Regions from separate parts of the Homo sapiens genome. Here region 1 is linked to region 2. Evidence: promoter capture Hi-C in human tissues and cell types (Jung and others, 2019). All regions are on one chromosome and are shown on one strand. The core of a region is centred on a gene start or on the middle of the fragment in contact, and the rest is flanking DNA. Distances in the headings are between cores, read along the strand shown.

Region 1 (3,582 bases), core at 533-3,032, 320 kb after region 2:
TTCACTATTTCAAAAAAATATTTACTGAGCCTTGATCTGGGATACCGGGGACAGAGCAGTGAATAAGACAGGCATCTTGCACTGTTTTCTTTGTGCAGCTAGAAACACTAATTGTTTAGAATTAAAGGACAATTAATAAACATTTTAATAAGTTTTTTTCAGATACTGATAAGCCCAGAAAAGAAAAATCCATGTGAAAAATGAGACCCTGGGAGGCTCCAGTGACTGGGGATGGCTGTGCTCCTCCGCTGCGGCACACCTCCCCGAGAAGGTAATATCTGAGCTGGAAGCTGCAGAATTAGAAGGATCTGACTGGCCATGGCAAGACCTGGGAGAGGCAGAGGGAGGGTCAGGGCAGTCCTGGAGCTGGGACTGAGTTTGGCTTGGTTAAAGGAGGAAAAGGAGGTCAGTGTAGTGTAAACACAAGTGAGAGTGGGAGAGACATGGACAGCCACAGCAGGGGCAATGCCACGCTGGGTCTAGAAGGCCAAGGCATTTAGACTTCAAGTGCATTAGGGATCCACCATAGAGTTTTGAGCAGAAGAGTAATATGATCTCGTTTTTTTTCTCTTGAAATCGGATAATCCAGTCAGCCCTCTGTATCTGTGGATTCCACATCGGGATTCAACCAACCGTGGATGGAAAACATTTGGAAAAAACAAACAATAAAAAATAACAATACGACTATATTAAAAAAAACATGAATTTGGCTGGGCGTGGTGGTTCACGCCTATAATCCCAGCACTTTTAGAGGCCAAGATGGACGAATCACGAGGTCAGGAGTTCGAGACCAGACTGGCCAACATGATGAAACCCCATCTCTACTAAAAATACAAAAAATTAGCTGGGCATGGTGGTGTACCCCTGTAATCCTAGCTACTCAGGAGGCTGAGGCAGGAGAATCGCTTGAACTCAGAAGGCGGAGGTTGCAGTGAGCAGAGATCGTGCCACTGCACTCCAGCCCAGGTAACAGCGCAAGACTCCATCTCAAAAAAAAAAATAATAATAATATGGATTTAAAAATACAGTATAACAACTACTTAGTATTTACATTGTATTAGATATTATAAGTAATCTAGAGATGATTTAAAGTATGTGGGAGGATATGTTTAGATTATGTGCAAATACTATACCATTTTATATCAAGGATTTGAGCACCTGTGAAAGTCCTGGAATCAATGTTATTAATACAGGACCTGAAACATGATAGATATTTAATAAAGAACAGCTTTATTATTGTTTATCATGACTTGGCATTGCCACTAGTCATTACGGACTTCTAGAAGGTGGGCGGCCTGTGCCTACCTTCATTCTAGAGGCATGCATCTTGGTGCACCCACCTGCCTGGGGAAAGGGGAGAGGAGTGGGAACAACTCGGGACACCTCTGACTTCCTTCCTCCTCCTTGCCACATGCTGCCCCCCCACCCCCAACAAGCCAGATGCCAGTCACCTCTGCCAGGCCAAGGGGCGGCCAGGGTAGGATTGCTGGGCCCCCCTCCAGCTGGCTCCGGCTCCAGGCCTCTGAGCCGCCTTCACTTTGCCTTAAAAATGCAAAGCATTCCAGCCATTTTAATTACTGGGCATTGCATAAGCCAGCAACCAGTTCATACAAAGGAGCAATAGACAAAAAAATGATTTTTCAACATGCCTTCAGCCTCTCCCCTTCTTTCCTCCTGAAATCAGCCCCCAATCACTGCCTCCCAGGCCTAGAAAAAGCACTCCAGGTATGCACAATCTCTTTTTGAGTTTGTTGATGTGACATCAAGGTCTTTTTTCTCTAAATACTTGAGGCAAAAAGCAGTTCCAGCCACCTTCAAGTGTTTTGGAAAGTTACCGATCATATTCCTACTTGACATGCTAAGACAATCAGAGGACTCCATATTATATACACTGAGAACTCTGATATAAAACAGAGTTCATTGTGCAGTGGGTCTGTCCAGGCACCAATTCAGGGCGCTTTCAGTTCTGGAATGACTTTACTATGGGGTACTCCTAAGAAATGAACCTCAAACACAATGTTCCAGCAATGCTTTTGTGTGGAGAATTATTAGTACTTAAATATTTATGTGATTGGGGAAGCTTCCATGTTTCCTAATTCTGATTTTTCAGTAGCCTCTAAACTGTTTTAACTAAATTTAATCCAAAAATTTGTTGAGGACCTACTGGGTATCAGTATTGGTTACGTTCTTGGAAGAGGAAATTCAATTAGCCCTGTCAATTAGCTCACTTTCTAAAGAGGGAAAGTTACACAGAAACTGACAATCCCAGTACAGGGTGATGAACTTCAAGTTAGGTCATCTCTGATGGGTGCTCCCAGCTTGGGTGGGAGGAAAGGCTACTTGTAGATTGTCTTAATAATATTGACAGTGACTATTCACTGATTGGCTGGCTCTGTGCCAGGAATTCTGCTAAACGCTTTCCACATATATCATCTTATTTATTCCTTGTAACTCTGTGAGGTAGGCGCTATTGTTGTCCCTGTATCACAGACGAGAATACGGAGGCACAAGAATGTTAAGTTACTTGTCGAAGGTCACACAGTTAAGAAAAGGCAGTAGTAAGCTGGTAAATATTTAACAAGTAGCTCTACAGTACAAAGAGCCCTCATTTGCAGTGTTTGCCAATTTCTGTGGTGTAAATACTTCCATCATAGCCAATTTTAAGTTACCAAGGTAATGTTCCTAAATGCAGTAGCACATCATTATATAATATTTCCACCATACAGAAACAACAGATGAAAGTTACCCTGAAAGCATAAATAAGAGTATACTGTAATAAACAATTAAGGAGTGAGGAGTTTCAAGTGTTCATTAATATAATTTATTAGTTATAACATTATATAATTAAATTAAACTTTATTTATTTATTTATTTATTTATTTATTTATTATTGAGACGGAGTCTCGCTTTGTTGCCCAGGATGGAGTGCAGTGGCATGATCTTGGCTCACTGCAACCTCCACCTCCTGGGTTCAAGCAATTCTTATGCCTCAGCCTCCCAAGTAGCTGGGACTACAGGCACGTGCTACCAAGCTTGGCTAATTTTTTGTATTTTTAGTAGAGACGGGGTTTCGCCATGTTGGCCAGGCTGGTCTCAAACTCCTGGCATCAAGTGATTCGCCTGCCTCGGCCTCTCAAAGTGATGGGATTACAGGTGTGAGCTACTGTGCCCAGCCAAAATTTTAAATAACGCCTATGTTTAATGACCGACCTGCAAATTCCCGAATGTATAACAATAGGCTCTGACAAGCCAGGGTGAGCCAGCTCCAGTGCAGCACTGGGGTCTCTAGAACCTTGCTCTTCACCATCGCAGACAAGTAATAGTAGCTACGAGAAAAGGTCAAGGGAACGGAATGAACAAAGACCTAAGATGTGACTACCGGAGAAAAGAAACACAATCACATTTAGTGTTCACAAAATCTTTTTAACTGATCACTAGAGTATTCAGAGATAGTGAGGAGTGCAGGATGGGACGCTGAACTTGGAAATCTCCACCACAGATTAACTGTGTAACCTTGGCTACATTACTAAACGTCTCTGTGCCCCAGTGTTCTTTTCCATAAAATGGGCATGATCATAACAG
Region 2 (3,172 bases), core at 411-2,910:
ATTTTAAATAGGAGTTGCTTGACACCATTTTCCTTTTTGTTGTTGTTGTTTAAAAGTTACTCAATTTTTTTTATTACACTTTAAGTTCTAGGGTACATGTGCACAGAAAACCAAACACCATTTTCAAGGTGGAAAAATTCAATAAGCATCTAGAAACGTTCAAGCATCACAGTGCAAATCCCTTCTTATTTTCTTGGACACAACTGGAGTTTTAAATTCCCTGCCAGCAGTAAAACCTGTTTTCCCTTCTTGGTTAAAAAAAGTTTCTGAAGTGGTACACTTTGATGGAGATCCAGGAATCCAAAATTACAGGCAGGAAAACATATTTTTCCTCTAGAAATTTTATGAGTGAAAGAAATTACTGGGGTATGAAGGGGTGAATTGTACATAACTTTTCATTGAATTGTTCAGTTACGATGATAACTTATGGGCAGGGGAGGAAAGGAACCTTGTCAAGCAAGGTGATGACTACTAAAAGGTTAAGTAATTTGGCTGACAAGTGCAGGCAGGGCTAGTTGCCTGTTAAAAGGATCCAAGATCACTTAAAAACCCCACCAGCAAGTTATCTATTTTGTTGCTTCTGGGGAATTGCTTCTTTCCAAGATTCAAAATCTCAGTAGTCATTATTTTTCCATACAAATACACAGACAGAATAATACTCCTAAATTAAATGGTCCTTGTGTGAGTCATCCTGACAGCTAAGAAAATGCCAGTCCAATTTAGAAAACACCTGAAACTCACAGATGGTCCTACTACTACTGCTGCTTGGCAAGAGCTTTGACTGACTCTGGAAAAACCGATTAAGGGAGTAATGAATGAGTAAAATGTAGCCTTCAAAACAGAGGCGCAGGTTGAAAAATTAAGTTCAACAGGTTTAAAGAAGTCTAAACTAGAAGGGTATTCCGACATATTGGTTAAGACAAAATGACCGTACATAAGAAGTCTAAATCGACAGGTATGGAACGTGGGCAGAATATTTCAAGGGATCCACTCCTCACATCTAGTTTTATAGCAACATCTCTAATGACAAGGACCTTGAGAATTCATAGCATGTCTTTTCCCCAAAACTCTATGCCTAACACCAACAAGTTCAACAGTCCAGGCAAGTGGGTGGCTAGTTTTGCTCTGGCAGGATCTAGGTCACTGATGTGCTTTAAGACCTGCCTTGAAAGCACAGAGATTATAACAACTCCTTAGTCCTAACCATGCTGATTTTGAGAGACAAGATAGAATTTTCTGCCACTGTGCTGGGTTCCCCTCTGAAATGGAGGCAAAAATAAGTCCAGATCACTGAGCAACCCTCTTAACATTGTTCCATGATGCAAAACTAAGTAGGTGGTTTAAACCAACTCTTTTCTCTCTTATGGCTGTTTAGCTGTCACTAAAGCTTTTGCCTAAGAAGCCTCCAGGTGCGCATATGTGACATCACACAAACAAACAAACAAAGATACAGAAAAATCTAGGCAGACAATAATAATAACCCAGGATATATGACAGCTGCCTGTTCAAAGTGTCCTACCAAATCTGGGACATCTCCAGTTTGGAGATCATGGCTGGCAGAGACCTGAAGTTTGTTCATGAGTCTTACCTCAAGCAGAGGAAGTGTCCAAAGCTGGAGAGCACCTTCGATTCTCTCTGCCTTTGAAGCTGATGTGTTCTCCACCTTGCGCCTTAAACTCAGCTGCTAAAAAGCCAAGATAATTAAGTCTGACTCATCTCAGTGGTGAATTTTTTTAATGCCTCTTTCAAAATGTGATACATAATTGCTTCACTACAATTACCCAATGGCATGAATGAGCACTACAGTATCTACCTAGATAAACAGACAGTGCCACCTATGCAATAATTATCTTCCTGCAAAACACACACACACACACACACACACACACACACACACCACTTGTGAAATTGTGATGGCTACTTTACCAAAATGATTGAAAACGGTGTTAAACTGCATTGGAAGAGGAAGAATTTTCCTGTCTGGAATCATAAGCTGGTTCCTTCTGGTCAGGGTGCCTGCGGTGGATGGCTCTACTACTGCCCAGAATACCTTTGGGACTTGTGGTGGATCATCAGATTCAGTCTGAAAGCATGAGGCTTGACAATCGGGCTGACCTAGTTACCTTATCACTCAGGGTAGGACCTCAGTTGGCATCTCTCAGTGTCCGTCCGCTCCTTTTCAGAATGTTATTAATGACTTACTGTTCCAGCATTCCTTAAACCTAAGTTGGGTGGGTGGGTTCATCAACTATTATGCAACTTAACATTTTCAGATTCCAAACTCCAGCCCTACTCTCATCTCCAATAAATTCATTTTAGTTAATGTGTTTTATCTATTTTTATTTTTATTTATTTATTTTTTGAGATGGAGTCTCACTCTGTCACCCAGGCTGGAGTGCAGTGGAGCGATCTTGGCTCACTGCAACCTCCGCCCCCTGGGTTCAAACAATTCTCCTGCCTCAGCCTCCCTAGTAGCTGGGATTACAGGAGTGCGCTACCACGCCCAGCTAATTTTTTGTATTTTTAGTACAGACAGGGTTTCGCTGCATTGGCCAGGCTGGTCTCGAACTCCTGACCTCATGTGATTGATCCACCCGTGTTGGCTTCATAAGTGCTGGGATTACAGATGTGAGCCATCATACCCGGCCATTAATGTATTTTAGATGGCCAGGGATTTGATTGTATGAAGTTTTTTTTTTTGTTTTTTGGTTTTTTTTTTTTTGAGACAGTCTCACTGTCACCCAGGCTGGAGTGCAGTGGCATGATCTTGGCTCACTACAACCTCTGCCTCCAGGGTTTAAGCGATTCTTGTGCCTTAGCCCTCTGAGTAGCTGGAATTACAGGTGTGCACCACCAAACTTGGCTAATTTTTGTATTTTTAGTAGTGATGGGGTTTCACCATGTTGGCCAGGCTGGTCTTGAACTCTTGACCTCAAGTGATCCACCTGCCTTGGCCTCCCAAAGTCCTGGGATTACAGGCATGATCCACCGCACCCAGCCTGATTGCATGAAGTTCTTATGGCTTATCTACACTTTTCTGGGTAAGACCCGGTGACCAACTGTCCTGGTTTCCCAAGAATGCAGGATTTTCAGTACTAAAACCAGAACAGTCCTGGGAAAATCAGGATGATAAGTCAGTCTGAAAGGAACCACAGACGCTTTCACTTGGCAT

What was found. The method cuts DNA at HindIII sites, captures the fragments that hold promoters and counts their contacts. A contact is called where the count stands out against the background at its distance.
Region 1: a fragment that was not itself captured here is called in contact with the fragment with the promoter of BPIFC in region 2 in 1 of the 25 tissues and cell types used here (lymphoblastoid cells).

What each region holds. Positions count from the first base shown.
Region 1 is chr22:32,787,552-32,791,133 of GRCh38, forward strand. The region is part of intron 6 of SYN3 (synapsin III); the gene reads right to left. Among named protein-coding and RNA genes, the nearest start is that of TIMP3, 12 kb to the right of the region's middle. The HindIII fragment of the contact is 6,054 bases long and covers 1-3,582 here.
Region 2 is chr22:32,462,786-32,465,957 of GRCh38, forward strand. It overlaps BPIFC (BPI fold containing family C), which reads right to left and starts at 1,661. Exons shown (of 17, transcript NM_174932.3): 1 at 1,589-1,661. The HindIII fragment of the contact is 9,351 bases long and covers 1-3,172 here.